2 separate regions of the Homo sapiens genome follow, and region 2 is linked to region 1. Evidence: promoter capture Hi-C in human tissues and cell types (Jung and others, 2019). All regions are on one chromosome and are shown on one strand. Each heading gives the region's core, a stretch centred on a gene start or on the middle of the fragment in contact. The rest is flanking DNA. Distances are from core to core; before and after follow the strand shown. Region 1 holds the start of WWP2 (WW domain containing E3 ubiquitin protein ligase 2). Region 2 overlaps SNTB2 (syntrophin beta 2).

Region 1 (5,314 bases), core at 2,725-5,224:
GCCACCGCGCCCGGCCAAGATAGGTACTGTTTTACAGACAAGGGATAGCTAACTAAAGCCACTAGGTGTAGCTGACATGGTCAGTAAGTGGTGAAAATAACGTAACACCCAGACAAACTGATTCAGAGCCACTTTTTTCTCTCTTCTCTTCTTTTTTCTTTCCTTTCCTTTTCTCTCTCTCTCTTTCTTTCTTTCTTTCTTTTTTTTTTTTTTGAGACACGGTCTCTCTCTGTTGCCCAGGCTGGTGTGCAGTGGCATGATCATAGTTCACTGCAACCTTGAACTCCCAGGCTCAAGTGAGCCTCCTACCTCAGCCTCTCGAGTAGCTGGCACCACAGGCCCACACCACCATGCCCAGCTAGTTTTTTCATTTTTACTTTTGTAGAGATGAGAGTCTCATCATGTTGCCCAGGCTGGTCTGAAACTCCCAGGTTCAAGCAGTCCTTTAGCCTTGGCCTCCCAAAGTGCTGGGATTACAGGTGTGAGACACGGTGCTGTCCCTGAGCCACCTAATTATCCATTCTGTTATACTGACTGCTGCTTATGTGCCTTCACTTCATTTTGAGCAACGTGGGGCCAGAGTCTGTCTAATTTGTCTTAATAGTCTCACCCCACCTCCCTAAGCAACACACATAATTTGGTAGCAAATAATTCCTTGCTGAATTGAACAGAAGGTGTATTTAGTGACTTCTACGTTTCCTTGCAAATCTGAAATTTTATGATTATAAGATCCGGTGAATTTTGCTGAATGTCGACTTGGGTCTTCATGCAAACTTTCTTCATGAAGTCTTCACGCCAGCTGGATTCCTCAATTGTCATTTATCTGTCCTACCCCAAAAATCCTTCAGTGCTACTGAATATTGCCTTTCAGCAATTACCCAAATTCAGTCTTTCTCTTTTTTTGGGGTGGCGGGAAGGGGACTGAGTTTTGCTCTCGTCGCCCAGGCTGGAGCACAGTGGTGCGATCTCAGCTCACTGCCACCTCTGCCTCCCAGGTTCAACAATTCTCCTGCCTCAGCCTCCTGTGTAGCTGAGATTATGGGTGCCCGCCACCACGCCTGGCTAATTTTTGTATTTTTAGTACAGATGGGGTTTCACCATATTGGCCAGATGGTCTCGAACTCCTGATGTACGGTGATCCACCTGCCTTGGCCTCCCAAAGTGCTAGAATTACAGGCGTGAGCCATTGCACCTGGCTCAACCTTTCTCACCACTCAGTCTCTTCATTATCTAGAACGTGCCTGTGCTACCTGCCGTAACAGAGTATGGCTGGAGGCTATTTCTCATTTTCTAGTTTATCATATCAATTTTTTTTTTTTGAGACAGAGTCTCACCCTGTCATCCAGGCTGGAGTCCAGTGTGCAATCTTGGCTCACTGCAACCTCCGCCTCCCAGGTTCAAGCGATTCTCAAGCCTCAGGCTCCTGATTAGCTGGGACTACGGGTGTGTGCCACCATGCCCAGCTAATATTTGTATTTTTTGTAGAGATGGGTTTTCACCATGTTGCCCAGTCTGATCTCGAGCCCCTGACAGTCTGATCTGCCCGCCTTGGCCTCCCAAAGTACTGGGATTACAGGTGCCAGCCACCGCACCCTGTCAGATTTTATTCTTTTAATGTGCAGTGTGTGCTCTTTGCTTGTCCCTTCTCCCCTTTGGTGAACACTTACTCAGATGCCACTAAATCTTTTCTGCAGGGTTGTTAAAAAAAAGCAACAAAAGATAAAAAATGAAATATGAAAGAAGAAAACAAACCGAAACCAACAAATGCTAGTAAGTCAAGGAAATAGTCTCTAATTTATCTAGAACAGAATTAGTAAAACTGCCATCAATGGAACTGGAGAAGTTTTAGTTATAGTAGTTTTATAAATGAGACTAATATAGGGTTTAATGTACAAAGACAGGACTGTATCTCCTTGAAAGTTAATCTCTTGGATTTGGAGTGGTACTACAAAAAGTAGAGACTAAGTGTTCAACCTATTTATTTATTTAGATACAGAGTCTCACTCTGTCGCCCAGGCTGGAGTGCAGAGGCGTTATCATGGCTCACTGCCACCTCCGCCTCCCGGGTTCAAGCAATTCTCCTGCCTCAGGTTCTGGAGTACCTGGGATTACCCGCACCCGGACCATGCCCGGCGAATCTTTTTTTTTTTTTTTTTTGTAGTTTTAGTAGAGATGGGGTTTCACCAGGTTGGCCAAGTGGGTTTCGAACTCCCGACCTCAGGTAATCCACCTGCCTCTGCCTCCCAAAGTGCTGGGATTACAGGCGTGAGCCTCCACGCCCCACCAGCCAATTTAATTTGTATGCATGATAGAATCCATCCCAATTCGAAGACCCAAAAATAACAGATTAGTACAAGTCTTTGAGGCTAATTACGTCATTAGTATTAATTTTAATCAATGGTGATTAAACTGAGCCTTCATTCAACTTGTCCAGAACATCAGTCAAGAATGTCTATTTAAAATGTTCTTGGAGGCCGGGCGCATTGGCTCACGCCTATAATCTGAGCACTTTGGGAGGCCAAGGCAGGTGGATCATCTGAGGTTAGGAGTTTGAGACCAGCCTGGCCAACATGGTGAAACCCCATCTCTATTAAAAATACAAAAATTAGCCAGGCATGGTGGTGGGTGCCTGTAGTCCCAGCTACTCAGGAGGCTGAGGAAGGAGAATTGCTTGAACCTGGGAGGCAGAGGTTGCAGTGAGCCAAGATTGAGCCACTGCACTCCTGCCTGGGCTACAAGAGTGAAACTCTGTCTCAAGCAAGCAAATAAATAAATAAATAAATAAATAAATAAAGTTATTGGGCAGGCACAGTGGCATTCGCCTGTAGTCTCAGCTACTTGGGAGGCTGAAGCAAGAGGACTGCTTGAAGCTGGGAGTTCGAGCCCAGCCAAAGCAACCTATCCAGACCCATCTCTTAAAAAAAATATTTCTCTGCCAGGTGCGGTGGTTCATGCCTGTAATCCCAGCACTTTGGGAGGCCAAGGTGGGCGGATCATTTGAAGTCAGGTGTTCGAGACCAGACTGGTCAACATGGAGGAACCCTGTCTCTACTAAAAATGCAAAAATTAGCCAGGCGTGGTGGTGCACGCCTGTAATCCCAGCTACTCGGGAGGCTGAGGCAGGAGAATTGCATGAACCGGCGAGACGGAGGTTGCAGTCAGCTGAGACTGCACCACTGCACTCCAGCCTGGGCGACAGAGCGAGGCTCCATCTCAAAAAAAAAAAAAAAAATATCATCTATCTATCCACCTACCTACCTACCTACCTACCTGGATTATAATTCATTAAGTTCTCTGTGCCCTGTAGTTGTAGATTAAGGGAATGCGATTGGATTAGTGTGGAGGGGCTTTTTATGGAGCCAAGCAGGAGTTTTTAAGCTTTTGTACTTTTGCTTCATGTCACAAGGACAGATGCCCCACAAAGGCTGAGATGTTTGTGGTCCTGGATCTTAGAACAGTGCCTGGCACATAATAGGCATAAGGTTGCCAGGAAATAGAAATACAGATACTCAATTCAATTTGATCTTCAGATAATCAAAAAATACTTTTTTTAGTATAAATATGTCCCATTCTGTATTTGGGACATACATATTACACTGTTGTTTATCTGAAATTCAAATTTAAGTGGGTGTCCTGTACTTTATCTGGCAACCCTACTAAAGGAGCTCAATTAAGTATTTGCTGACTTAACAGTCTGAAGGTCTCGTTTCACCTGTAAAATGGGGCTAGTACCTGTCCCTGCCTCTATAAGGTTGATGGGCAGAGTAGGTGGCATTCAGTGAGCCCTCAATTTATTTGATTGCCTGGGACCATCCGGTGAGCAGAAACCCTTCCACTTTCAACTACAGAGACGATAAAAAGGCCTCCTCGAGGCCAGAGGTGCCCAGGCCAGGCCTAGGTGGCCCGCACCTGCGAGCCTGGCCAGCCTCTTCCGGGTCAGGTGACCGCGCGCGGTCACGTGACCCGGCCCGAGTGCGGGCGGTGGAAGGCGGAAGTAGGAGAGGAGTTCGGCGCCGCTTCTGTGGCCACGGCAGGTAGCGAGCGCTGGCGCGGGGGGCGCGGTGGGCTGGCTGCCTGCACGGGGCGGGCCGGGGGCGGCGGGCGGCGCGGGGTGGGCCGGGGGCGGCGCGGCCCGGGCGTCGGGGGGCGGCGGCTTCCTGTGGGAGGGGCCTGGCGCGGCGGTTCCGGCCTCCGAGGAGGGGTGTCCCGGCTCCCGCCCGAGTGGGGTGGGCGCGCCGCGGCCCGCGCGGGGGTTGCTCCGAAATGGGTGCCCCGGCCGCCAAGGGTGCAGCTGGAGCGAGTCCTCCCGGAAGGGGAGAGGAGCTTAGGTTCCCAGGCATGGAGAGGAGCGATCTTTGTGGAGGGATCGGGACCAGGGGAAGGGGCGACTTGGAACTGAGCTGGAAGGGGGTGCCTGAAAATGGGTTTATGGCGTGGAGCCAGAGGGAAAAAGATGCTGCCTGGACCCCCTCTGAGAGTCTCTCCCTTCCTTCCTGTTTGGAAATGATTGTTACCCGAGACTTTGATGACGGTCCCATTCAGTTTTTAAACTTCAGGAGGGATCACAGAATCTTGATCGTCTTGCTTCCCTCGCGCCCACTTAGTCCTGCGTGGGTAGGGTTTCCACTTCTTGGGAGCCTAGCCCTTCAGCTCATTTTTCTTTGAGATTTTCCCTGAACGGGCCATCATCGAGGCTTTAAAAAACAAAAAAAGAAAATAAATTAAAAAAATAAGTGTGGGCACTTTGCCTGTAAAATGGCTTTTAGCTTACACTGTTGACCTAGCCCAGCGTTACCTCAGCAACATAGTGACTGCTGAAATCTTGGACAGAGAAGTGTCTACCTAGACTGCTTTATGACTTTTCTCTTTCTTCCGTTTAAATTATTCAGTTTCCCTTAGCTTATCTTGTGACTGCTTATCTTGACGAACTGTAACTAGGTAGGGTGCCTGAGAGGTCTGTGTTATGTTCCTTAGAACTGTGACCTGGATCATGATTTTGAGATTGAATACTTGTGTTAAAGCCTGTTCATCTTCCTGTTTCTCATGTTTACTAAAATTTGCAGAAGCAAAAGGAGTTTCATGAGTGCAGTGTAACTGGAACGAATGTTCAAACTGGACATTCACAGCAGCCAGCATCGTTTTGGGTTACAAGTAGGAAAAAGTACTTTCCTAATGTATTATGAGTTCAAGTTTTTGGAGTTATTTGACAAACATTTAAAAATTAGTTTTTGCAGCAGCGCCTATGAGTGAGGTTGGGAAGATGTATTCTCATTTCACAGGGAACAAACAGACTTACGAGAGACGACTTGATTTT
Region 2 (5,225 bases), core at 2,614-5,113, 540 kb before region 1:
ACAATTATTTATGGCATCGTTTTAAATTAATTATCTCATACCGCAAGTTCCTTGCAATAGTTATTTTCTATTATTTCTGCTTTTCCTTGACGTACAACATAAAAAATATCAACTGTAAATTTTTTAATATTTGTCTTTTAAATGATAAGTATAGCTTTTACAAAGCACAATCAAGTAATATTTAAAAGGCTACCAGCCTGGTGCGGTGACTCATGCCTGGAATTCCATCACTTAGGGAGGCCAAGGTGGGTAGATCATCTGAGGTCAGGCATTCGACATCAGCCTGGCCAACATGGTGAAACCCCGTCTCTACTAAAAATACAAAAATTGGTTGGGCGTGGTGGTGTGTGCCTGTAATCCCAGCTACTTGGGAAGCAGAGGTAGGAGAATCACTTGAACCTGGGAGGTGGAGGTTGCAGTAAGCTGAGATCATGCCACTGCACTCCAGCCCAGGCCACAGAGTGAGACTTCATCTCAAAAAAAAAAAAAAAAGATTTTATAAGATGTGTTAAAAAGCAAGATAAAAATTCTATGTATGATTATAGCTATTAAAATGCCTAGACACAAAATACATAGACAAAAAGACTAGAAGGAAAGATACGTTTTATTAGTAATAAAGATGACTATTTTATCTCTTTTCCAGATTTTCTGTGATTTGTTATTTTCTTTTCTTTTTTTCTGAGATGGGAGTTTTTGCTCTTGTTGCCCAGGCTGGAGTGCAGTGGTGCGAACTTGGCTCACTGCAACCTCTGCCTCCCAGGTTCAAGCAATTCTCCTGCCTCAGCCTCCCGAGTAGCTGGGATTACTGGCACATGCCACCATGCCCAGCTAATTTTTTTTTATTTTTAGTAGAGATGAGGTTTCACCACAGTGGCCAGGCTGGTCTCAAACTCCTAACCTCAGGTGATCCACCTGCCTCGGCCTCCTGAAGTACTTGTGAGCCACTGCGCCCAGCCGTTTTGTTCTTATTACTTACAATTCTTTTGCTTTTAGACTTAAAAGTTATAGAAATAATACAGAGTTTCCAGTTTCCCCGAATGTTAACATCTTGCATAACCATTATCAAAACTAAGAATTTTTTTTTTTTTTTTTTGATACAGAGTTTTGCTCTTGTTGCCCAGGCTGGAGTGCAGTCGTGTGATCTTGGCTCACTGCAACCTCTGCCTCCTGGGTTCAAGCGATTCTCCTGCCTCAGCCTCCCAAGTAGCTGAGATTACAGGCGCCCCAGCCACCACGCCTGGCTAATTTTTGTATTTTTAGTGGAGTCAAGGTTTCGCCATGTTGGCCAGGCTGGTTTCCAATTCCTGACTTCAGGTAATGCACCTACCTCAGCCTCTCAAAGCGCTGGGATTTCAGGCATGAGCCACCACACCCAGCCAACATTAGTATGATATTATTAAACTACAGTCTCTTTATGGTTTTCACCCATTTTTCCAGTAATGTCCTTTTTCTGTTCCAGGATCCCACATTACACTTCGTTGTCATGTTTCCTTTGTTTCCTCCAATCTGTGACAGTTTTGTTTTTTTTTTGAGACGGAGTCTCGCTCTGTCATCCAGGCTGGAGTGCAGTGGCCCAATCTCGGCTCACTGCAAGCTCCGCCTTCTGGATTCATGCCATTCTCCTGCCTCAGCCTCCCAAGTAGCTGGGACTACAGGTGCCCGCCACCATGCCCGACTAGTTTTTTGTATTTTGTTTGTAGAGACGGGGTTTCACTGTGTTAGCCAGGATGGTCTTGATCTCCTGACCTCGTGATCCACCCGCCTCAGCCTCCCGAAGTGTTGGGATTACAGGCGTGAGCCACCACACCCGGCCGACAGTTCTTCAGTCTTGTCTTTTCTTTTATGACCTTGACACTTTAGAAGAATACTGGTCAGTGGTTTTGTAGAATGTCCCTCAATTGGGTTTGTCTTATTTCATCATGAATATATGGAGGTTACTCATTCTTGGGAAGGAAACCAGAGAAGTGATGTATCATTCTCAGTGTATCATATTGGGCAGGGGTGGGATATGACTTCAATATTTCTTAATCTAGTCATATAAACCTTGATTACTGTCATGTTTCTCCACATAAAGTTACTATTTTTCCTTTGCAATTTTTTTTTTTTTTTTTTTGAGACGGAGTCTTGCCCTGTTGCCCAGGCTGGAGTGCAGTGGTGCGATCTTGGCTCACTGCAACCTCTGCCTCCCAGGTTCAAGCGATTCTCCTGCCTCAGCCTCCCTAGTAGCTGGAATTACAGGCTCGCGCCACCACGCCCGGCTGATTTTTTGTATCGTTAGTAGAGACGGGGTTTCACCATGTTGGCCAGGCTGGTCTCGAACTCCTGACCTCATGATCCGCTTGCCTTGGCCTCCCAAAGTACTGGGATTACAGGCGTGAGCCACTGTTTCCTTTGTAATTAATAAGTATCTTGGAAAATATGGTGAGATTATGCAAACACACAGTTATTCTTTAAACTTTTGCCCAGTAATTTTAGCATAAATCATTGGATCTTGCCTGCAACAATGATTACTATAGTGTTTTAATGATGATTTTCTATTTATCTCATGCCTACTACACTTACTAATGAGAATTCTTCTGTAAGAAAGAGCTGGCCCTTCTCCTCCATTTATGTATTTATTACATTATTTATATTATTGTGGACTCTTGGATATTTATTTTATTCTGTGGGTTATAATCCTGTATTACTGTTACTTATTTTGATGCTCAAATTGTTCCAGCTTTTGTTTTTATTACTTTTTCATTAAGAAAATTAATAAAACAAATTATCAGCAGATAAAGTTACAGTATGTGGGTTGACCAGTGTCACACAATATTACTTAACATGCAGTAGTTGATTGCTATTAACTCTGACGGTTCTGAGTTTACTACAGTGGAATTCATTAGTATGTGTTATGTAAGAATGAAGAGGGAAAGAACACGAAGACATCTTTGTCTTTTCTCTTTCCCTGAACTCAGTTAATTCTGCCTATTTGGTCTGAAAAGCTCTAATAACAATGAAGGCCTGGCAGTAACTTACAGGATTTCTTTTATACAAAAAAGAGAAAAGAAAATTACCAAGTATTTAAAGACATGGAAACTTGGAGGACTTTCTTGTTCCTAAGTGGTGACTCTAACTGGATGTTCAGGATGGAGTGGTTGCTGACCCTTTGAACACAGCTATTGTGCTGGGTTAATATTGTATTTCCGTCTATAGTTTATCATTCAGGGTGCTGATCTAAAACAAAGCATCCGGTTTATCCAGCTAGTCCAGAACATATCCACTTAGCAACAAAAATACGGATAACGATTTCCTTGCGCTTGAATTGCTATGGTTTTTTTGTTGTTGTCTAGTGGAAATTTCGTTGTCTCGTGGAAGTTTTGTTGTCTAGTGGAAAAACATTAGTAAGTATTTTTATATTTTTCAGTGATTTTATTTTATTTGCTGCTGTTACATCCAATTATGTGTAACATTGTATTTACACCTCTATAGCATGTATCATGTTTTGCCTTATTATAATTTCTACTTTATTAGTTGGCCTATTTTAGGGGACACATGTCTTCCTTTTATTCCTCAAGTAAATAACTTGAGGACAAGATTTGTGTGTCAAACATTTTAAAGATCCACGTGCTTTGCACATAGGAGAGAGTTGTTGAAAAGGGGGGAACATTGTAGCTCTTTTTGGTTTTGGAGACGGAGTCTCACTCTGTCACCCAGGCTGGAGTGCAGTGATGTGATCTCGGCTCAGTGCAGCCTCCGCCTCCTGGGTTCAAGTGATTCTCCTACCTCGGCCTCCTGAGTAGCTGGGATTACAGGCGCCCGTCTCCACACCTGGCTAATTTTTGTAGTTTTAGTAGACATGGGGTTTCACCATGTTGGCTAGGCTGGTCTCAAACTACTGATCTCAAGTGATCTGCCCGCCTCGGCCTCCCAAAGTGCTAGGATTAAAGGCATGAGATGCCCAGTTCTTCTGTTTTTTGTTTTTTGATTTTTCGAGAAGGAGTCTCACTCTGTTGCCCAGGCTGGAGTGCTATGGCGTGATCTCGGCTCACTGCAACCTCTGCTTCCTGGGTTAAAGCAATTCTCCCGCCTCAGCCTCCCAAGTAGCTGGGAATACAGGCACCCGCCATCATGACCAGCTAATTTTTGTATTTTTGTAGAGACAGGGTTTCACTATGTTGGCCAGACTGGTCTTGAACTCCTGACCTTAGGTGATCTGTCTGCCTCGGCCTCCCCAAGTGCTGGGATTACAGGCGTGAGCCACCATGCCCACCCTATGATTCTTAAGAGTAAAAAAAAAAAAAAAACTTTGTTTCCTATCATATGTGCTAGCAATAGATAAAACCCTATATGTTGGGTTCCTGAGGCAAGGACTGACTTTCTAATAAGAATATTTTAATCCATTATTGGCTCCTTATGATAGATAAGACTTCATTTATCTTTCTTGCTTTTCTCTGAGACAAGGTCTCCCACTGTCACACTGGAGTGCGGTGGTGGGATTGTGGCTCACTGCAGCCTCAACCTCTCAAGCTCAAGCAGTCCTCCCACGTCAGTGTCCTGAGTTGCTGGGACTACAAGCATATGCCACCACATCAGGCTAATTTTTAAATTGTTTTGTAAAGACGGGGTCTCGCTATGTTGCCCAAGCTGGTCTTGAACTTGTGGGCTCAAGCAATCCTTCTGCCTTGGCCTCACAAAATGCTGGGATTACAGGTGTGAGCCATGGTGCATGGCCCTAAGGTTATGTTTTTATGTTACTGCAGGAGCAAACTGCTCATTCAGAAGCCATTTGTTTAAGCTTATAATTGTTTACTAAGGAGAATTTTGCTTTTATGGCAGGTTTGTTTTAATAAGAAATTTAGCTGAATTAACCCCTCAGCAGATAAGATTATACATATAGAGTCTATGTGACAACCTTCAGTATATGGAGAGAGTGACCATTTCCCAAATATTCACAAGCACATAGTGGGGCTGACCAAGGGCCTTTTATTCAAACAGTTGCAAGAATCCTTAATCTAGAGCAATTAGCAACAACATTTAACTGAATTGTGTTACTCATGCCAGAAATATTTCTGAGAATTTCACTAGGACAGACAAATTAGGACTGTAAAAGTATATCTGTATTTGTGCAGAATCTCTCATAATTCATCTAATCAATATTGACTGTACATCTTCTGTGCATTAGTGATTCCAGCTATGAACTGTTTCTCAATGCACTGACAATTTTTGACCAATGTATAAAATTT

The links. The method cuts DNA at HindIII sites, captures the fragments that hold promoters and counts their contacts. A contact is called where the count stands out against the background at its distance.
Region 2: a contact is called between a fragment that was not itself captured here and the fragment with the promoter of WWP2 in region 1, in 1 of the 25 tissues and cell types used here (aorta).

Annotation. Positions count from the first base shown.
Region 1 is chr16:69,758,358-69,763,671 of GRCh38, forward strand. WWP2 (WW domain containing E3 ubiquitin protein ligase 2) reads left to right here and starts at 3,975. Exons shown (of 24, transcript NM_001270454.2): 1 at 3,975-4,034. RefSeq lists an enhancer at 3,780-4,358 and silencers at 4,062-4,201, 4,222-4,381, 4,402-4,451. The HindIII fragment of the contact is 7,232 bases long and covers 1,546-5,314 here.
Region 2 is chr16:69,222,117-69,227,341 of GRCh38, forward strand. All of the region lies in intron 1 of SNTB2 (syntrophin beta 2), which reads left to right. Among named protein-coding and RNA genes, the nearest start is that of SNTB2, 38 kb to the left of the region's middle. The HindIII fragment of the contact is 3,089 bases long and covers 2,320-5,225 here.